7 separate regions of the Homo sapiens genome follow, and regions 1, 2, 3, 4, 5 and 7 are each linked to region 6. The links are contacts of gene promoters, found by promoter capture Hi-C in blood cells and fetal thymus (Javierre and others, 2016). All regions are on one chromosome and are shown on one strand. Each heading gives the region's core, a stretch centred on a gene start or on the middle of the fragment in contact. The rest is flanking DNA. Distances are from core to core; before and after follow the strand shown. Region 1 overlaps GHR (growth hormone receptor). Region 2 has its middle 73 kb from the start of SELENOP. Region 3 overlaps CCDC152 (coiled-coil domain containing 152). Region 4 holds the start of LOC124900970 (a long non-coding RNA gene). Region 5 overlaps GHR (growth hormone receptor). Region 6 holds the start of RIMOC1 (RAB7A interacting MON1-CCZ1 complex subunit 1). Region 7 overlaps CCDC152 (coiled-coil domain containing 152).

Region 1 (3,087 bases), core at 106-2,605, 730 kb after region 6:
TAGATATTTACCACTTAGTTTACAAGAGACCTGTTTCTCTCTGTGCATTGACTTAGGCACTATTAATGAAACCTTTGGAATGCAGGTCCCTTCTGGTTGTAAACATATACTGAGGTCTTCTATTTCTTTTGGAACTCAAACAATAAGAAAATAGTTAGAAATCTGTTTGTGGGCATAGGTCTCTAAAAGCCTTAATCTTAGAAGTGAGTAAAAAAAATTTTAGGCCAGACGCGGTGGCTCATGCCTGTAATCCCAGCACTTTGGGAGGCCGAGGTGGGCGGATCACGAGGTCAGGAGATGGAGACCATCATGGCTAACACAGTGAAATCCCGTCTCTACTAAAAATACAAAAAATTAGCCGGGCGTGGTGGCGGGCGCCTGTAGTCCCAGCTACTTGGGAGGCTGAGGCAGGAGAATGGCGTGAACCCGGGAGGCGGAGCTTGCAGTGAGCCGAGATCTCACCACTGGACTCCAGCCTGGGCGACAGAGCGAGACCCCGTTTCAAAAAAAAAAAAAAAAAAAAAAAATTAGAGCCTAAGAAGGATGATTAAGCATCTTACTTAAATTTTCAGTATGCCTATGTACACTCTATATACTGACTTCTAGCATGGTTTCTTTGCCAAAGCATAACACACATTTTTTAAAGGGATAATTCAAGACAAACATTCTTTCACCCTGGGTGACCCCAATGGGTGGTGAACACTTTTTAGTAACTCTTGAAAGTTAAAGCATCCAACAGTTGGTTGTGACCTTTTTGGTTGTGACCTTTGAGTTCTTCTAGCTTGTAGCCCACTGATTTGCTGCTTAATTCCACAGCTTCAAAACCAACTCTAATCACTGCTCCCGAGAGAGCCCTAGCTTCTGCACACATGAGTCTCTCACCAGGAAAGGATACCTGAAGTCCAGAAAAGCCCTTTGTTCACACTGGCTCCTCCTAGTGGGGAACAGTTTTTTTAAATAATGTACATTTATGCACTGGGAAAATATCTTGAATTTATTATTTAGGTGTAACCAGACTTTAATACAACTTAACCTACACACTGAGAAAGCAGACATTTACAAAAAGATTTATGGCTTTGACAAAGCGTTCAAATGTAGTTACCATTAAATAGTAGTTCAAGTAATTGTGTGTCTCATGGCAAATACATGCAATATAAGGTAATATATATTTAAGCCAAAAATAACAAGAGGTGATCATTTGCTAAACAAAGAACTTATTACTTAGGAAAAAATGTTACACAACTTTCAAAGGACTTTTGAAAATATAGTATGATTTATAGGAAATTTATTTGCATATAATTCACAATATCTGGTACAAGGTAAGCTACCTCTGTGTTTTTTTTCTTTAGGTCAACAAATATTTAAACCAAGGGTTGGCAAACAGGCCCTCAGACCAGATGCTTGTTTTTGTAAATAAAGTTTTATTGGACCACACCCATGCCTGTTTGTTTCAGATTGTGTTTACTTTAGGGCTACAGTGGCAGAGTGGAGTAGCTAAGACACAGAGCATAGGTCCACAAACCTAAAATATTTACTCTCTGGCCCTCTAAAAAAAAGTATGCCAAACCATTCTAAACAGCAAAGCAATTAATTCTTTTTTTTCAACTCTTATTTTAGATTTAGGGGGTACACGTGCAGGTTTGTTACATGGGTCAATTGCATGTCTCTGAGGTTTGGTGTACAAATAATCCCCTTACCCAGGTATTGAGCATATTACTTGATGTTTTTCAACTCACACCCCGCTCCCAATCTTCACCACTCTAGTAGTCCCCTGTGTCTACTGTTGCCATCTTTATACCCATGTTTATCCAGTGTTTAGCTCCTGCTTATAAGTAAGAACATATGGTATTTCGTTTTCTGTTCCTGCGTTAATTCACTTATGATGATGACTTCCACATACATCCATGTTGCTGCAAAGGACATGATTTTGTTCTTTTTTATGGCTGCATAGCTTTTCATGGTATACGTGTACCACATTTTCTTTATCCAGTCCACCATCAATGCGCATCTAGGTTGATTTTATGTTTTTGCTGTTATGAATAGTCCTGTGATGAATATATGAGTGCGTGTGTCCTTTTTGTAGAATGATTTATTTTTCTTTGGGTATCTACCCAGTTATGGGATTGCTAGGTTGAATGGTAGTTCTGTTTTAATTTCCTTGAGAAATCTCCACACTGTTTTCCACAGTGGCTGAACTAATTTACATTCCCACCAGCAGCTATAATATGGTTGTTTGTTTGTTTGTTTGTTTGAGACGGAGTCTCGCTTTGTCGCCTGGGCTGGAGTGCAGTGGTGCGATTTCGGCTCACTGCACTCTCCGCCTCCCAGGTTCAAGCAATTTGCCTGCCTCAGCCTCCTGAGTAGCTGGGATTACAGTCGTGCACCACCACGCCCGGCAAATTTTTTTTATTTTTAGTAGAGACGGGATTTCACCGTGTTGGTCAGGCTGGTCTCGAACTCCTGACCTCGTGATCTGCCCCCCTCAGCATCCCAAATACTATACTGCCCCCTCAGTATAATATAGTATTTTAAGGAACTAATCATCAAGTTTGTACTGGTTACCCTCTTTTAGTCTCCTGTTATCTTCAATTTCATAATTGGCATTAATGACAATACAGTGTTCACTTTATAAATTTGCTTCATAGTAAACTCTTCTGAAATAAATTACAGTCATGCATCACTTAACAGTGGGGATAGGTTCTAAGAAATGCATAATTAGGTAATTTCATCATTGTGTAAACATGAAGTGTACTCACACAAACCTGGATGGTACAGTCTGCTGCACACCAGCCTTTATGATATAGTCTATTGTTCCTAGGCTACAAATCTATACAGCATGTTACTGTACTGAATATTCTCAGCAATTGTAACACAATGGTAAGTATTTATGTATCTAAACATAGAAAATGTACAGTAAACATATAGTATTGTAATCGTATGGGACGACTATCATATATGCAGTCTGTCGTTGACCAAAACATCATTATACAGCACAAGACTATAGTTGAAAATTTTAAATTACATATGTGGGTTGCACTGTATTTCTGTTTGCAGCATTGATATATACATTTAATGGTTTGTATGTTT
Region 2 (3,104 bases), core at 306-2,805, 980 kb after region 6:
TTTCCATTTATATCACTTTCATTCTATGTGTTGTATTCTTACAGATGAAGTGAGTCTCTTGTAGGCAGGTTATGATTGGGTGTTTTTTTTTATTCATTCAGCCACTCTATGACTTTTGATGGAAGAATTTAATTCTTTTAAACTCAAGATAATTATTGATAGATAAGGATTTGCTATTGCCATTTTTTAAATAGTTTTCTGATTGTTTTGTAGAACCTTTGTTTTTTTCTTCTCTTGTTGGTCTTTCTTTGTGATTAAGAAATTTCCTCCAGTGTTATGCTTATATGTTTTGATTTCTTTTTTAAAAAAATCCTTTTTTACTTACTATAGGTTTTTGCTTTGTGGTTACCATGAGCACCATGAGGCTTACAAAAAAATCTTATAATGGTGATAAGCTGATAACTTGACTTTGATAGCATTAAAAAAACTCTACACTTCTACTCCACCTCTCCCTACATTTATAATATTTGATGTCACAATTTCCCAGTTTTTATTCATGAGGTAAATTTCAGCCACCTCTTTTAAAATGGGAAAAGAAGAGAAGAAGTATAAAACCTGTACACCAAAATTAAAACTCTAAGCCCCCACCGCACCCCACCGCCAACCATCTGAATGGGCCCCTCCTCTAGGCCAGGGCACTCCAAAGTTAACCTGAAAAGCTGATTTAGGCCATGGTGGGAAGTGGGGTCAGACATGGCTCATTATACCCTCTTCCCTTTTAGAATTCAGGAAAACCCAGCCAGCGTTTAATATCAACACAGATCTTAAGTGTGATGAGAAACGTTTATAATCTGTTATCTCTGAAGCCTGCTACCTGGAGGCTTCATCTGCAAGATAAAACTTTGGTCTCCACAACACTTTATCATAACCCAGACATTTCTTTTTATTGATAATAACTATTTCAATCAATTGCCAATCAGAAAAATTTTAAATCTACCTATAACCTGAAACCCCTCTCCCCCTCACGGTCCCCTGCTTCAAATTGTCCTGCCTTTCTGGACCAAACTAATTTACATCTTAAATGTGGTTAATTGATGTCTCATGTTTCCCAAAATGTATACAACTAGGCTGTGCTTTGACCACCTTGGGCACATGTCCTCAGTATCTCCTGAGGGCTGTGTCGCAGGCCACTGATCACTCATGTTTGAATCAAAATAAATCTCAAATATTTCAGAGTTTCACTCTTTTTGTTTACATCAGGATAGGTCAGTTCATGTTAACTTACTTTCCTGGTGGGATGGTGTTGAAGAGAGCCTGAGAACTTCTCAAAAACAAGGAAGAAAAGGTAACAGCAGACAAAAAAAGACAGACTAGCATCAATACGTTCTCCCTTGTTATCCCCATCTTGAGAAGGGGGCACATGGATTTGCCCTTTGATCTTGCACTCTCACCTAGAACACAACCACACTGGCCTATTACACTCCATAGACCTCAAACCACACTAATCCACTATTTACATTCACTTTCACCAGTTACCAGGGGAAAATAGCACATGTGGGGTTACAAAGGCTACATGATTGGGCTACCCAATTAGAACTTCACTGTGAAACTTCAGGACAAAATGCAGATCTGAAGATCATCCCAAAATGCCCAATAATGTTGGCTATGCTGACCCCAGCTGCTGGACTCCATTCCTTCTATGCAAGCTAAGTTCTCAGGCAAAAGTCTCTTGGAGTGTTTCTGCAGGGAGCAGAGAGCAAACTCTGCCCTCCAAGTTCTGTATCTTTGCCCTTAAAACTCAGCTCTCTGAAGGGAACCATATAATATTTCTGTAATATCTCTCATAAGCAAGTAAAGATCCCTCCTTAGACTCCCTTAATTCACCTCCAACTACTGCTTTGTTCCTCAGCAACCCTTTAGAGAAAAACCTCTAAATAGAGTTGTCTGTTCTTACTGTCTTCACTTCCTTGGCTCTCATTGTGGTTTCAGCACACACTGATTGAGTGTTCACCCCTCTCACTCCCCTGAACTTGGCCTTCTCCAGACACCAGTGATCTCCATCTTAATTTACCTGTAACCATCATTGTAGCAGGTTATCACCTCCTTCCCCTTGAAAATTCTTCAGATCTCACTGGACATCTCCATTCTGCCTCTATTGATGACTCCTTTACTTCTTCCAACATTTTACCTCAGTCTTCAACACTCTTGTCTATCTACTCCCCTCTCCTTGAGTGGTCTCACTCAGTTCCATGGCTTTAAATACATTTAGATATTGAATCTCAAACCTACATCTTTACATTGGCTTAAATCTCCAGCTGCCTACTTGACATCTATGCTTGGTGAACCCTAGTCAGCCTCTCCACACTTCCTTGTTTCAATAAATGGCCCCAATATTCACCTAGTTTTTCAGACTCAAGGCATAGGAGATATTTTTACTCTTTTCTTTACACCACACCTCCAACTCATCAGAAACTTCCATTTATTCCACCTTCAAAATTTATTTCAAACTTCACCACTGTTTACCACTTTCACTGCTGCTATCTATACCAAAGAAACCATCTTTGTTCACCTAAATCCCTGCGGTAGGCTTGCACCTGGACTCCCTGATTCCTTTTATACTCTTAAGTGGTCAGGTCTCCAGATAGCAACTAGAATGATCTGCCTAAAACATAAATCAGATAATGCCTCACCCCTGCCTCAAAGTCCTACATAACACTTTGGATTTTGGTTGTTGTTTTTGTTTTGTTTTTTGAGATAGGGTCTTGCTCTGTCACACAGGATGGAGTACAGTAGCATAATCACAGCTTACTGCAGCCTCGACCTCCTGGCTCAAGCAGTCCTCCTGCCTCAGCAACCTGAGTAGCTGGGACTACAAGTGTGCAACGTCAAGCCAGGCTAATTTTTTATTTTTCGTAGACATGGGAGTCTCACTACATTGCCGAGGCTGTCCTCCAACTCCTAGGTCCAAGCAATACTCCTGCCTTGACCTCCCAAAGTTTTGTGTTTACAAGAGTGAGCCACCATAATAGGCTTCCCATAATACTTTGAATGAAACCCAAACTCCTTACCATGTCCTATAAGGTCTAAAATAACTGGCTTTTGCCTATTTCTCCAGTTTCACCTCTTTTTATTTTCTGGCTCACTTCTGCCAGTTTGACCAAATT
Region 3 (2,923 bases), core at 22-2,521, 880 kb after region 6:
CCAGAGGAAAGACAGGGAAGAGCAACTAAGGAGGAAACTAAGACTTCTTTCCCACTTCTATTGACTCTTTACAGCCACTGATCTAGCCAGTGATAAGGATCATGAAAACTTTCAATCAAATAGGAAATTACAGTTTTAAACCGACCTGGATGTTTAGTAATCAAAATTAACCACAGGGTTTTTAAAATTTGTTAAAAATATTAAGGTATTGTTTTCAGTTACCCAAACCAAAAACCTAAAAAGAAAAGGCTCCCCCTTTCTCTTTTGCCTCCTCTATCTAAAGGGTCACTAAATTCCTAGGTAATTCTATCATCTAAATAATAATTCTCCTCATTGCTTCCTTTTTTCCATACTGCCGCTGACGTAATTTAGGTTCCTGTTATCTCTTACTTGACCTATAGTTACTGATCTCCATTCCTCTAGGGTCAAAACCCTCTCATTCATCATCCACATTGCCAGATAATCGTTTTAGCATGTAACTCTCATTATTTCACTTCTGCACTATTCAAAATTCTTTGATGACTCCCTGTAACCTCTAAAACCAAAATCCAAAATTGTTCATCTAGAATATGTAGAATATGTCTACCTAGTGATAGGATCCCAACCTATATAGCATCTCCTGCTCACACTTTACACTTCAACAATACCGTACGTGAATTGTAGTTTTTCCAAGCTATATTCACTCAAGCCCATGGTCTTCTGTGCGATTTTCTGCATTTAGAATGCTCTCTCTTAACATGGGGTAAGCCTATCACTTAAATCTCGTCTCAAGTAGCTTCTCTTCTCTAAATCCTTTCCTGACTTCAAGCTGCCCTAGGTTTTCTTTTTACAGGTTCCTGTAGTATTTCAGATATACTGCCATTAAAGAGCAATTATCATAGCATATTATAACTACTAACACATTTGACTCAGCACTAGGCTGTAAGTTCTTTGAAGAGCAGTAACTCTTTTCACTTTCATATTCTCAGTGTCTAGCATGGTGCCTGAAGTGTAGCAGCTGCTGGATGCATGTTTGTTGAATGCATACATAATGGAAGCTAAAATGTTGAACATATTTTCATATTAATTGAAAAGTGCTATATATTATGATGTTCTTTGATTATTCTTACACAGGTGAAAATGAACAACTAAAAATAAGTGCTGATCTTATAAAAGAGAAGTTAAAGTCTCATGAACAGGTGAGTTTATGTATCATTCTATTCAGTCAAGTCCCTGTGGAGATTTATCTTTTCAAATTAGGAAAAAAAAAGAGGTTTTTAAATTAATAAACACAGCCAAATGTTTGTGGGTGTGTGTGTGTGTGGAGATATACGTATATATGCCAAAATCTTTAGTAAATGACAATTTGTTTTCAAAGCAATACTAGTTTTAAGAGTTTTTTTTTTTTACAAAATATAATGTACTAACAAATAACTTGCATTACTTTTTCTTTCTACCAAAAAGAGATGCAGTTATTTTGCTACATAATTTTCAATTATGTTAATAGAGGTTTTACTCTAGTAAACTCTATTTGTTACTACTTGTGAACTTTCTTATTATAATGTAAATGAATCTATACTCTTTATGATTTGGGTAATCATTACACCATTCCAATACAGGGGGCATTTCATGTGGATCACAAATTATTTCTCTCCCAGGAGCCACCATACCCTCTGCTACTTTTCCTTATCTCCTGTAGGAACAGTGTAGTGACAGCAGTTGTAGAACACATGAACAGCGTGTAAAAAGCATAAAAGATGCTAAATAAATGTCAGTTCCCTCTGCTCTTTGAGAGGTTCATTATGCTAACTTCCTCATCTCTCAAGAGCTAATATGTCAAATTCTAGCAGACAAAAGATCCTCAAAACTCAAGTTGAATCTATAGGAGCTTTCAACTTGAAGAATCTTCTCTAAATTCAGTCTGGTTCCTCATCTGAGGACCCTCTGAAGAAATCTGCCCAGAACTTCTGGTTAATCCTGTACAGTAATAAGTAGCATTCTGGCTATGCTCTTAGAAAATTTAGCTTTTCATCACCAATTTTGAGATGGTTTTTAAGTATTTCTGAAATGAATCCTACCCTTTCTCCCCCTTTCTTTTCCTTTTTCCCTTTATTCTTTCCCAATCCTTTTAATATATTGACTCTAGATCTCAAAAATAGATGGTAAAGTCAGGTTGTAATTGGGGTGGGGAACCAGGGGGAGAAAATTTGACCTGCTTTCCTTTCTAAAACTTCAAGCACTAGGATACTGCTTTGTTGAGAATACTACAGGAATGTTCAGAGGGGAAGAAATTAAAGAGAAAACACCACAACCCAAGAGTCTGAATTTCTTACTTAGGGGCTGCCCAAAGCAAACTATGACAACGCAGATTTGCTAATTCAAAACCTCTGAACACATCTAAAATTCATGGAGAAAACTCCCCAGGAACAAACTCAGGAGGTACCCAATAGCAGTATTTGTGAGAGTAGAAGGATTTTGCAACTTGTATAGAGAGAATCATTGTTTTTTATATCAAGAGTGAAACTGGAGGCTATTCCTTGGAATTTAAAATTCCCAGAAAGCATATGAAAAGAAGACAACCAATTGTAACCTATTGGGGATTAGTCTCCTTAGAAAAATGAAAAGATTACATTTTTTAGGAATGGCACAGGCTAAAGTGGAAGAGAAGATCTAGTGGGATAGAACTTGGCTCAACCCAGATAGAATAGTCTTCATGCCTGGAGGCTGAAATGCAAATCCTGGGTCTCACCGAATTAACTGGCAGCATTCCACTTTCCTGGTGACATCTTCCTGTGGCAAAAATCAGTGGAGAATAGAAAGGTACATAGGTTTGTCTCTTGTGGTTTCTCAGAGCAGCAACAGCTTAGTGCACACAGTTGTCAGGAGTAGTTTATAAAAGCTGCTCTGTAGTTGCCCATCTAGAAATCTAGATATATAGAAAATG
Region 4 (3,158 bases), core at 7-2,506, 930 kb after region 6:
GTATGCCTTAACCTTAAAGAGGCCTAGAAGAGCTGTGGCAAAATAAGGACGTTTATAGCCCTATCTTATCCATATGAACAGGCGCCCCTCATGCATCTGCTTATAGGCTCTCCACAAGAATCACATTCCATTCCCAGAGCTATGAACATCTGCTTTTCTGGGATAGGAATCCTGGTTATGTGAAACCTCCCTGACTGCACGTCCGTTTATAGGCTCTCTGCACGGGGAAGCACATTACGCGCTGTTGGCTCATTCTGGCAGCCCAACCTGGCATTGTCTTTACACAATCCTGCATGCAATTTTGTACGTACAATAATCAGGAGCATTTCATCTTTTACTCCATAGCAATAGTTTCAGGGGGTCTCCCTACAATTGATCGTTAGAGAAATACAAATCAAAACCACAATGAGTTACCATTTCACACCAGTCAGAATATCTATTATTAAAATGTCAAAAAATAACAGATGCCAGCAAGGTTGCAAAGAGAAGGGAACCCTTATACACTGTCAGTGGGTGCATAAATTAATTCAACTACTGTGGAAAGACGTATAGTGATTCCTCAAAGAACTAAAAACAGAACTGTCACTGGACCCAGACATTTTATTACTAGGTATATACCCACAGAAATATAAATCATTCTATCATAAAGACACATGCACATGAATGTTCATTGCAGCACTATTCACAATAGCAAAGACATGAAACCAACCTAAATGCCCATCAATGACAGATTGGATAAAGAGAATGTAGTACATATACACCATGGAATACTATGTAGCCATAAAAAAGAACAAGATTGTCTTTTGCGGGAACATGGATGGAGCTGGAGGCCATTATCCTTGGCAAACTAATGCAGGAAAAGAAAACAAAATACTGTATATTGTCACTTGTAAGTGGAAGAGAACACATAAACATATAGAAAAGAACAGCAGACATTGGAGCCTACCAGAGGGTGGGGGGAGGAAGAGGATCAGAAAAAAAATAACTATTGGGTACTAGGCTTAGTACCTGAGTGATGAAATAATTTGTACAACAAACCTCTGTGACACAAGTTTACCTATATAACAAACCTGTATGTGTACTCTGAACCTAAAATACAAGTTTTTCTAAAAAAAAAAAAGGAAGCCCAATCAACGGAATGAAAATAAAAGAGCAGCAGGAGCAAGGGTTTGAATCTTTCTGAGACCTTTTAAAATTAAAGTAATAGTTACACAATCAACTTTTGGGTTTATATCCAGCCCAGAGTTGAGGCCCCAGGAACCATGTTCCAGGGGATTATAGCTGACTTCCTGGGAAAAAAAAATAATACTAAGTGCAGCAAGAAAAAAAAGCAGATTGAAAGTGGGACTGTGGAAGCCTGGTTCTAAGAATACACCCAATGATTCCTTCCTCCTGATATCCATATCCTTGTGTAATCACTTTGAGAGGTGACAACATGCTAGTAGCCCTCACTCGCTCTCAGCACCTCCTCAGCCTCGGCATCCACTCTGGCCATGCTTGAGGAGTCCTTCAGTCTGCCACTGCACTATGGGAGCCCTTCTCTGGGCTGGCAGAGGCCACAGCTGGCTCCCTCTGCTTGTGGGGAGGTGTGGAGGGAGATGGCGCAGGCGGGAACCAGGGCTGCCTGCGGCACTCACGGGCCAGCACGAGTTCCTGGTGGGCGCGGGCTCAGCAGGCCCCGCACTCCTAGTGGCCGGCCGGTGCCAGCCACCCTGGGCAGTGAGGGGCTTAGCACCTGGGTCAGCAGCTGCAGAGGGTGCGCCGGGTTCCCCAGCAGTGCCGGCCTGCTGGCGCCATGCTCGAATTCTTGCCAGGCCTCAGCCACCTCTCATTGGGGCAGGGCTCGGGACCTGCAGCCCACCATGCCCAAGCACCCCCCCAGCCCTGTGGGCTCCCATGCGGCCCGAGCCTCCCCCTTGGGCGCTGCCCCCTGCTCCACGGCACCCAGTCCCATCGACCACCCAAGAGATGAGGAGTGCGGGTGCACAGCGCAGTACTGGCAGGCAGCTCTGCCTGCGGCCCTGGCACAGGATCTCCTAGGCAAAGCCAGCTGGGCTCCTGAGTGGGGTGGAGACTGGGAGAACTTTTATGGCTAGCTAGAGGATTGTAAATGAACCAATCAGCACTATGTGTCTAGCTAAAGATTTGTAAACACACTAATCAGTGCTCTGTGTCTAGCTAATCTAGTGGGGACTTGGAGAACTTTTGTGTCTAGCTAAAGGATTGTAAATGCGCCAATCAGCACTCTGTGTCTAGCTCAAGGTTTGTAAACGCACCAATCAGCACCCTGTCAAAAGGGACCAATCAGCTCTCTGTAAAACGGACCAGTCAGCTCTCTGTAAAATGGACCAATCAGCAGGATGTGGGTGGGGTCAGATAAGGGAATAAAAGCAGGCTGCCCAAGCCAACAGCGGCAACCCACTGGGGTCCCCTTCCACACTGTGGTAGCTTTGTTCTTTTGCTGTTTGCAATAAATCTTGCTGCTGCCCACTCTTTGGGTCCACACTGCCTTTATGAGCTGTAAAACTCACCACGAAGGTCTGCAGCTTCACTCCTGAGGCCAGTGAGACCATGAACCCACCAGGAGGAATGAACAACTCTGGCTGGGATGAACAAACTTCAGATGGGAGGAATGAACAACTCCAGATGTGCCACTTTAAGAGCTGTAACACACCGCTAAGGTGTGCAGCTTCACTCTTGAAGCCAGTGAGATCAAGAACCCACCAGAAGAAAGAAACTCCAAACACACATCCAAACATCAGAAGGAACAAACTCTGGACACACCATCTTTAAGAACTGTAACACTCACCGAGAGGGTCCGTGGCTTCATTCTTAAAGTCAGCGAGACCAAGAACCCACCAATTTCGGACACAACTTCTCCTTGAGCTAGGTGGACATAGTGACTCATTTGTAAGAAATAAAATATAGCAAAATAATGAGCTGTCACTTCTCAGACTCTAATTTCCATCCTTCTTCCCTCTTCCATTTCCTCCCTGGCTCTGAGCAAAGCCAGCTGCTAGGCTGTGAGCTTTCCTATGGAGAAGTACATGTGACAAAGAACTGAGGGAAGGCTTCAATGCAATAGCCAGCAAAGAAATGAATTATGTCAACAACAACATGAACGAGCTTGGAACAAGAACCTGTCTCCATTGAACCTT
Region 5 (2,970 bases), core at 134-2,633, 750 kb after region 6:
CTATAAGTCTACAGTAACATACTGGTGTTTCCCTTTCCTTATGAAGTTTTATATAGCTACTCCAGTATATCCTAAAATGTTCCTTTTTCTTGCTTTTATAGTGGAGTCTTGCTTGTTGGCCAGGCTGGCCTCAAACTCCTGAGCTCAAGTGATCCTCCCACCTAATAGTAGCTGGGTATTCTTCTGAGTAGGTGGTCCTAAAATGTTTTATTTTCAGCTTATTTCATAGGTATAAGTCTTATTTTCCCAACCAGGCTGAAAACTTTTCAGAATCAGGACTTGTCTTTAGTTTCTCATTTTTTATGAGGGGATGTGGCATTATTGCTTAGGGAATTCAGATATTTCTGATAATAAAGATGCTTTTCTGTTTGTTCATATAAATTAGGGTAAAAGAGGAAGTACAAAACTATCTCAAATCAAGTACAGGACTCTTAATTATTACTAGCTATCTAACAGCTCATAGAAACCGATAAGTTTCTGAACCTAATGCCAAAAAAAAGCAACCTTACCATAAAAAGAAAATCCAAATAAAACTGAAAGAGGCAGTGGGCAGTGCTACCTATGGGAAGAAAACTTTGAAGTGGGAAAAATCTGGATTCACATCCCAGCTTTGCTACTTATTACCTTTGTGTTTTGGCTAAAAATTATCTAACTTTCCTGAAGTTAAGTTTCCTTCTCTGTAAAATGAGGGTTATAATAATATATACAGCATACTCCACAGAAGAGTTGTGAAGATGGAATGAGAAAGCAAATGGCAAAAACTTAGCACAAAGTAGGAGCTCAATCAATCATGGTTAAAAAGAACTTTTATCCATTGTTATTTTTGCTTATATACAGTAAGAATTATCCAATGCAAATGTAATCAGAGCATCTGCAATTGAGCTTTATAAAGTGAATTATAATTCTCATACCATAGTGGTTCTCATCAAGGGTGATTTTTTTCCCCCCAGGGGACATTTGGCAATGTCTAGAGACATTTTACTTGTCACACTGGAAAAGAGGGGGTGCTACTGGCATCTAGTAGGTAGAGAGTAGGAATGATGATAAGCATTCTCTAATGCACAGGACAGCATTCCACAGCAACAAATGATCTGATCCAAAATACCAATAGTGTGGAAGTTGAGAAACCCTACCATAAAGCCTAGGGAGTCCATTACTTCTGACCTAAATTTGTTTTATATTTAAGAGTGGATGTGGATTAAAAGTAGCTTCCATTTTGGTAGGTTATGAAGAGAGTTGTCTAATCTGTGCTTTAGATTCTAATTTTGAGGCATATTTTTAGGCTAAGGCATTGCAATATATAAGGCTTTCTAAGTTTCAGACATTTTCTTGGAGGTCAACAAATGAAGGCTTGGGGATCTATTAACCCACTAGAGTAGTGTAATAATGGTGGTGGTTGTTTATTGAAGACTAACCAAGTGCCAAGTACTCTATAATAATCTGATTTATTTTTCAGCAACTGTATAAGCAGGTATTTTGCTCTCATTTTACACAGGGGAAAACTGGAGCTTAGAGAACTTATGTAACATTACTAGCAAGTTGCACAGCTGGGATTCAAACTGAAATCCAGCTAGCTTCAAAGACTGTGTTCTTTCTGCTGCTGCATACTACCCCTACCTACCAAGGCTCTGAGATTAGAAAGCAGGATGGGTGTGTTTTAAAGGAAATAAGGTAGGAAAGTTTTCAAATATTAGAAACTCTGCACAAGAAGATTAGGTCAAGTTTCCCACTGAGGGGCCCTTGAGTATCTATGAACTCGATGAAAACTCTGAGCTTCTCAGGAAGGTAGACCAAAGGGAAAGGATTCATCAAAATGGATGTTAGCACTATGCCATGTGTATTACTCCATCCTCACACGGCCAAAAGGACATACCTGAGACTGGGTAATTTGTAAGGAAAAAGAGGTTTAAAAAAGTTCTCTTCGATGGCCAAATAGGAACAGCTCCGGTCTACAGCTCCCAGCGTGAGCGACACAGAAGACGGGTGATTTCTGCATTTCCATCTGAGCTACTGCATTCATCTCACTAGGGAGTGCCAGACAGTGGGCCCGGGACAGTGGGTGCAGCACACTTTGCAGGAGCCGAAGCAGGGTGAGGCATTGCCTCACTCAGGAAGCGCAAGGGGACAGGGAGTTCCCTTTCCGAGTCAAAGAAAGGGGTGACAGATGGCACCTGGAAAATCGGGTCACTCCCACCCTAATACTGCGCTTTTCTGACGGGCTTAAAAAACGGCGCACCAGGAGATTATATCCCGCACCTGGCTCGGAGGGTCCTACGCCCACGGAGTCTCGCTGATTGCTAGCACAGCAGTCTGAGATCAAACTGCAAGGTGGCAGCAAGGCTGGGGGAGGGGCGCCAGGCATTGCCCAGGTTTGCTTAGGTAAACAAAGCAGGCGGGAATCTCGAACTGGGTGGAGCCCACAACAGCTCAAGGAGGCCTGCCTGCCTCTGTAGACTCCACCTCTGGGGGCAGGGTACAGACAAACAAAAAGACAGCAGTAACCTCTGCAGACTTAAATGTCCCTGTCTGACAGCTTTGAAGAGAGCAGTGGTTCTCCCAGCATGCAGCTGGAGATCTGAGAACAGGCAGACTGCCTCCTCAAGTGGGTCCCTGACCCCTGACCCCTGAGCAGCCTAACTGGGAGACACCCCTCAGTAGGGGCAGACTGACACCTCACACGGCCAGGTACTCCTCTGAGACAAAACTTCCAGAGGAACGATCAGGCAGCAGCATTCAAGGTTCATGAAAATCCGCTGTTCTGCAGCCACCGCTGCTGGTACCCAGGAAAACAGGGTCTGGAGTGGACCTCTAGCAAACTCCAACAGACCTGCAGCTGAGGGTCCTGTCTGTTAGAAGGAAAACTAACAAACAGAAAGGACATCCACACCAAAAACCCATCTGTACATCACCATCATCAAAGACCAAAAGTAGATAAAACCACAAAGATGGGGAAAAAACAGAGCAGAAAAA
Region 6 (3,004 bases), core at 355-2,854:
GAATGGTAAATTACACATTTTCTAGGAGACTGAAAATTCCTAATCAAAGGTTAATTATTTTTTGAAAATTATTTTTTGAAAAGTTTAGTAAAATCTTCTGAAGGCTTCATTTAGTTCTACATCTTGTAGAAGATTCAGAAGGCATCAGGTGTAACCTTCTGCTCTTTTCTCTATCCATTGCTGGCTCCCTACTTTCATTTTGAATTTATCCCTATTTCCCTATTTTTCCCCCTTTGTGTACAGATACGATCATTCTCCACCCTACCTTCCAGCACTTGCCCCTCTTCAACTACCACCTTCTCCATCCCTTGTTGAGAAAGCCTTCTCTCAACTTCTTGTTTATACTTAGATTCTTTTTTTCCTCACCTACAATTCCCACACTATTGAATAATTGTCTACTCCCACAGACCACATCATATCCCCTTGCCATCTTGCTTGTTGACAAGAGTGCATATGTGCCAGGCACTGTATGAGGCACCAAGGACACAAAATACATGATTCCTGTCCTCTATATTTAGGGTGAATTGTCAGAAGAAACTGGTATTACAAAGGTCAGTTAGAGAGTCATTGTGGTCAATCACTTATAAATCACAATACACTTTTTCTCTATTTTTAGTATTTTTCTATTACATATAAAAAACTACCTTCCATGAGAAACAATAGGATGGAGATTATTCAAGATATAGTGTGTCAAACTGAGAAATGAATACACAGAGTTAACGATTTGTTTGACCAGAGGCAAGAAAGCATTCACAGAATGCAAAGTGAAGTTAGACTTGCTGACTGAGTGCTTTGAAACTCCCGATTGAGAGGATGAACCTCATGCACAATTAGCGCCTTAAGGGAAGGTCTTGAGATGAAAGAAAAATGAAAATAGTTTTGTGGCCGCAGAATTTACTACCACTGGACGCAAGATGTCTAAAGTACTTTAAATGTGAACTCCAAGGGAGGTCAGAGATAAATTCGACTGCTAAAAATCAGATTTACAAAAGCAATATTCAACCATGTAGACTGGCAACTCCACTAGTGTTTGGAGCTCCCCATCCAGATGTACAACAAACTCTTGGAGACTTGGATGTGTTACACAGGGGGCCGGTCGGGTTTCCATTTAGGACCAGGAGATTATAATCACTTTATTTTAGCAACCTCCTTACTACAAGGCCAAAACTGACAGTCCTCTCTCCAGACCCTCGCGTCCGCCCTCCAGACTGTGCTTCCCGCGCCGGACAGGGAAGTGGGAGTGCGGACGACAATCCGCATCCTGCCAGCCAGACGTCACCAAGCTGTCTTCCAAGAGGCAGGCGGAGAGAGCTGACTTCCGATTGGGTCAGCCGAGGGGCACGGCTGGCTCCCTATTGGCTTACAGGAGGGGGCTAGAGAGAGGCGTGTCTCAACGTCACACCCGCCCCTAGTCTCCTTGCTGCTCAGGATTATGGGAGGGAAGGGAAGTCCAGGAGGGAAAAATGACCCGGAAAGACCTTTGCCGGCCTGGGCCAGCCCTCTTCCGGAGCTGATGTCTCCTCCCACCAACCAGGAGAGGTCCGCCCTAGGCCCCGCCCGTGCCGGGGGATCAGGTGATTGCGGGCCAACACGGTCACGTGACCGGGGCGCACCCGCCGATTGTGGCCATGGCGGCCGCAGTCTCTAGTGTGGTGAGACGAGTGGAAGAGCTCGGGGATCTGGCTCAGGCCCACATACAGCAACTTAGCGAAGCTGCCGGTGAAGATGGTGAGGGAGCGGAGGAGAGGGAGGCGGGCGGGGCAGACGGCGCTAAGGTACTGGCGCTCGATGGCTGTGAGGGCTAGAGGCTGAGGCCTGTGTTCCTTTGGGTCCCAGGCCGCAGGTGGTTACCCGAGGTCTGTCGCTTCTGAGCCCCTCTGCGCCATCGATTGCCCACTTCCCAGAACTCACAATGCCAAGGCGTTGTCTTCGAAAACCGCATTATTCAGAACCCATGGAAAATCTGTCTAGATCCGTGCTGGTGTAAACTGTCTCGGTAGCGATTGGAAGAAGGGCAGAATCTAAATAAAATACAGAAGTTTAAATAAATGGCTAAGATGAATGATAACACTCAAATTAGTTATGGTGGTTTGCATCCTGTAAAGATAAAAAGACATGTATAACAGTTCCACTTTTTCATTGCTGCGTTGTAATTTGCGTTTTACGTTTTGGATTCAAAACAACATTCTATAGAAGAGCTTTACATTGGTGTGTAGACTATTCTGCCCCATACATCATGCCAGTTCTCACAAGGGCTCTGTTAAGTATTGGCATACTTGTTTTGGAAAGGTCTAAGCTGTTAGGAAAAACTGGGCTAGGGAATTGCCTCAACCTTCTGAATTTAAGTCCAATTCTTTTCATTACGTCTCAGCTGCCTTTAGGTTCTACATTATTCCTTTTTGAGTTTGAGCAATTACTACAGATAGTTTTTAAAATTCTGTGGACTGACTCATATCATCGGACTCATAGGAAAACAGTGGTGGAACATTTTCTTAAGCGATTGAATAGTTGGTGAATTTGTTATTAAATAGGGTCTATGATGAAATGCCTTAGTTTCAGTGAATATTTTTTGCCAGATTATCATTTATCAGGAGTGTTTTGTTTTGTTTTGTTTTTAGAGGCAGAGTATCATTCTGTTGCTCAGGCTGGAGCCCCTCTAGTAGTGGGACAACAGGCGCACACCATCTCGCCCGGCTAACTTTGGCATATTTTGTAGAAACGGGGTTCACCATGTCATCCAGGTTGGTCCTGAACTCCTGGGCTCAAGCATTCCACCCGCTTTGGCTTCCCAAAGTGCTGGGATTACAGGCGTGAGCCACTGTGCCAGGCCAGGAGTGTGTTCTTTAAAGACCTACAGACCACCCTGAAGCCGACTTATATTTTGGTCTGTGGATTCACATGAATAATTCTTGGGTAGTAGGAGCTATTAACTTGAAAGTTATCTATGTTACCTCTAATTCCAGATTCACTTGAACCAGTCCAAAGAGACCAAAGAATGTTTTTT
Region 7 (3,106 bases), core at 474-2,973, 900 kb after region 6:
TCTTTGAGAGTCTGGAACAAATTTATAAATCACTTTTTAACAAGCTTATAGAGATAGGAATAATGCGTGAAAAATGATTTGTAGAGCTAACATGTGAAATTCCAACTAGTTAATTAGAATCGAGCTGGCTTTGTATTATATTAATGAGAAAGAGTCTGATGTTAGTCTCAACACCTAGACATTTTATTAAAGGCTTAAAAAGAAAGCCAAACCACTGTACTTATATTTGCAGAAGCAAATGAAGTAAACTGGCAAAAGGAACTTGGATTGCAGGAAAGTCAAAGTAATATCAAATCCTAAATTCAGTTGATCTGGGCCGAGCATGGTGGCTCATGCCTGTAATCCCACCACTTTGGGTGGCCGAGGGGGGCAGATTACTTGGGCTCAGGAGTCGGAGACCAGCCTGGGCAACATGGCGAGATCCTGTCTCTGCAAAATATACAAAAATTAGCTGGGTGTGGTGTCAGATGCCTGTAGTCCCAGCTACTTGTGAGGCTGAGGTGGGAGGATCGTTTGAGCCTGCAAGATGGAGGTTGCAGTGAGCTCAGATGGTGCCACTGCACTCCAGCCTGGGTGACAGAGTCAGACCCTATCTCAAAAAAATAAAAAATAAATAAAAAATCAGTTGAACTATATGGAAACTTCTGTACCTGTGTCAACGGTGCATCTTATCTAATACTATATGATACTGTAATCTAATATTATCTCTGATAATTCAAAAATGCTAATAAACTCTGCTCAAATGTGTTAGTTTTTCATACTTCATCCTATGCCAGGAAATGTTTTGAACTTCACCAAAGCTTTGCTAATGTCTCCCTACCATAAGGCTGTCAGCTGAAAATAGCAAATTACTGCCCGACTCCCATTGACCATAATATCCATTCCGCATGATCCTAGTTCTTTAATTTACTGGAAGTCTTTACTGTTTTGTGGTACCTACTAATCAGAGACTCAAAGCCTATAGATACAGAAATGTAACAGTAAATCTCAACCTAAGGCTAATTTGCAAATAAAATTACAAAATCAACTTAGAACCCAAAGACTCACTAAGTGATATGCTTTTGATGTTTTGAAGGTTTTAAAAGGTTATAAATTCCATTAAATTTTAGCATACAACTACTAAGTGGTACTTTATTTGGTTATTTCTGAATTACTTCTACATTAGAAGCTAATAATGTTTGCTTACAAACTTATAAAGAATTTGATACATGTTTAAAATATACTGTGTAATGTTCAAAGTGTTCAAGGTTTAAACAAACACAAATACCTATGGTAGTAGTCTAATTTCTTTCATTTATTTATTTATTTAGTGACGGAGTCTCACTCTTTCGCCAGGCTGGAGTGCAGTGGCACGACCTCGACTCACTGCAACTTCCGCCTCCTAGGTTCAAGTGATTCTCCTGCCCCAGCCTCCCAAGCAGCTGGGATTGCAGACACGTGCCACCACGCCCAGCTAATTTTTGTATTTTTAGTAGAGATGGGGTTTCACCATGTTGGCCAGGATGGTCTCGATCTATTGACCTCGTGATTCATCCACCTCGGCCTCCCAAAGTGCTGGGATTACAGGCGTGGGCCACCGCACCCTGCCAGTAGTCTAATTTCAGAAACGAATTACTATATTTTACTGATTATGTGATGCATATTTCTTTAGATTTTAATATCTCTAAAATTAGAATGTACCATACTGTTGGTGGTGGTTTCTCACTGTATCCTACTTTAATTAGCAGCATTTTTTTTTCCTAAATACTACATAAGATAATATGTCAAATAATCAGTGGTATCTAGGAGACAATGAAATAGAAAAACTCCAATCGGATTTGGCATATCAGATACTAATAGTGTCTGATCTGTAATTTGTATTTACAGATGATTCACACATTTTAAGCATATTGTGGTAACTATTAACTGCCTTTTTCAATATAACTGGGTATATTTATAACTAGCAAGCATTTGCACAAATGAGAAATGCAGAAATAATCCCAAAATATGAGGAATCATTATAATTAGTATTTATTAAATGCTTAGTATAGGTTGAGTTAGTACTTTTCTTTCATTACTCTTAGTATTTTCTTCCATTACCTCAGTCTCCTCATCTTTAAAAATAGTAAAATAACCCTCAAAAGATCATTATAAAGATTAAAATGTGAAAATTACATAACTAGAGTAAGTAACTTATACTCCTTAACAACTAAATTAATTAATTAAATTCGTTAAAAATTTGAGGCGGCTTTCTTTAGACCTGGGGAAAATCTGAAGGAAATACAACTTACAGATAAAATTGTGAATTGTTTTTAAACCTAAGTTCAAATTTTCCCAATCTGACTTCTCAATGGAACATTGTTTAGAATTATTTTCCTTTTTGTTATGAAGGAAAACAAGTCTAGTTAATACAAATTAAATTCTTTGAGTGCCTTTTTTATTTAAAAAAGATTTAAATATAGTTCTTCTCATAACAAAGAAGAAATATTTTCATGGTTGTTAGGAAATAAATACCAGTAATGAGTAGAAAACTTACTCCATTTTGAAGTAAACTCAGACTGCAGATGGGCAGGCAGTGGAAGGGCTTCAGGAAAAATCTGATAGCCTTGCATCTTCAATAAATTAAGTAGTTTCTGGCCCCAGTTCCATTCCAAGTAATGCTGTGGGTAAGCTTTGCTATTTTTATGTTCTTGTGCTAACATGTTCAGGTTACTACAATAACATTGCTTTTTTGTGTTGACTAAATTTTTTGAGCACTTATGCCCATGCAACGTCATTTGGTGGTAACTGAAATACGATACATTGATTTTTAATTTCTAAAGCTCTTCTAGATAAAGGCAGCAACATCGATCTTCAAAAGATGTTTTAAACTAGAGGTTAGGCCGGGCGCGGTGGCTCACGCCTGTAATCCCAGCACTTTGGGAGGCCGAGGCGGGCGTATCACAAGGGCTGGAGATCGAGACCATCCTGGCTAACACAGTGAAACCCCGTCTCTACTAAAAATACAAAAAATTAGCTGGGAGTAGTGGCGGACGCCTGTAGTCCTAGCTACTCGGGAGACTGAGGCAGGAGAATGGCGTGAACCCGGGAGGCGGAGCTTGCAGTGAGCCGAGATCGCGCCACTGCA

The links. The method cuts DNA at HindIII sites, captures the fragments that hold promoters and counts their contacts. A CHiCAGO score of 5 or more calls a contact.
Region 1: a fragment that was not itself captured here is called in contact with the fragment with the promoter of RIMOC1 in region 6 in 1 of 17 cell types (naive B cells); the score reaches 6.8 in naive B cells.
Region 2: a fragment that was not itself captured here is called in contact with the fragment with the promoter of RIMOC1 in region 6 in 4 of 17 cell types (neutrophils, M1 macrophages, M0 macrophages and 1 more); the score reaches 8.0 in neutrophils.
Region 3: a fragment that was not itself captured here is called in contact with the fragment with the promoter of RIMOC1 in region 6 in 3 of 17 cell types (M1 macrophages, M0 macrophages and monocytes); the score reaches 8.0 in M1 macrophages.
Region 4: a contact is called between a fragment that was not itself captured here and the fragment with the promoter of RIMOC1 in region 6, in 1 of 17 cell types (M1 macrophages). The highest score is 5.8, in M1 macrophages.
Region 5: a contact is called between a fragment that was not itself captured here and the fragment with the promoter of RIMOC1 in region 6, in 1 of 17 cell types (naive B cells). The highest score is 5.8, in naive B cells.
Region 7: a fragment that was not itself captured here is called in contact with the fragment with the promoter of RIMOC1 in region 6 in 1 of 17 cell types (M0 macrophages); the score reaches 5.3 in M0 macrophages.

What each region holds. Positions count from the first base shown.
Region 1 is chr5:42,635,707-42,638,793 of GRCh38, forward strand. The region is part of intron 3 of GHR (growth hormone receptor); the gene reads left to right. Among named protein-coding and RNA genes, the nearest start is that of CCDC152, 120 kb to the right of the region's middle. The HindIII fragment of the contact is 5,633 bases long and covers 1-3,087 here.
Region 2 is chr5:42,883,096-42,886,199 of GRCh38, forward strand. No RefSeq gene overlaps it. Among named protein-coding and RNA genes, the nearest start is that of SELENOP, 73 kb to the left of the region's middle. The HindIII fragment of the contact is 4,310 bases long and covers 1-3,104 here.
Region 3 is chr5:42,778,345-42,781,267 of GRCh38, forward strand. It overlaps CCDC152 (coiled-coil domain containing 152), which reads left to right. Exons shown (of 9, transcript NM_001134848.2): 5 at 1,114-1,178. Among named protein-coding and RNA genes, the nearest start is that of CCDC152, 23 kb to the left of the region's middle. The HindIII fragment of the contact is 5,271 bases long and covers 1-2,923 here.
Region 4 is chr5:42,834,774-42,837,931 of GRCh38, forward strand. It overlaps LOC124900970 (a long non-coding RNA gene), which reads left to right and starts at 2,802. Exons shown (of 2, transcript XR_007058751.1): 1 at 2,802-3,158. The HindIII fragment of the contact is 5,346 bases long and covers 1-3,158 here.
Region 5 is chr5:42,657,709-42,660,678 of GRCh38, forward strand. All of the region lies in intron 3 of GHR (growth hormone receptor), which reads left to right. Among named protein-coding and RNA genes, the nearest start is that of CCDC152, 98 kb to the right of the region's middle. The HindIII fragment of the contact is 4,825 bases long and covers 1-2,970 here.
Region 6 is chr5:41,902,740-41,905,743 of GRCh38, forward strand. RIMOC1 (RAB7A interacting MON1-CCZ1 complex subunit 1) reads left to right here and starts at 1,605. Exons shown (of 6, transcript NM_175921.6): 1 at 1,605-1,728. The coding sequence starts at 1,629. RefSeq lists enhancers at 1,038-1,177, 1,289-1,835, 1,588-1,707. The HindIII fragment of the contact is 10,560 bases long and covers 1-3,004 here.
Region 7 is chr5:42,801,321-42,804,426 of GRCh38, forward strand. CCDC152 (coiled-coil domain containing 152) reads left to right here. Exons shown (of 9, transcript NM_001134848.2): 9 at 1-1,119. It overlaps SELENOP (selenoprotein P), which reads right to left. Exons shown (of 5, transcript NM_005410.4): 5 at 1-11. Among named protein-coding and RNA genes, the nearest start is that of SELENOP, 9.0 kb to the right of the region's middle. RefSeq lists enhancers at 2,412-2,912, 2,913-3,106. The HindIII fragment of the contact is 1,850 bases long and covers 799-2,648 here.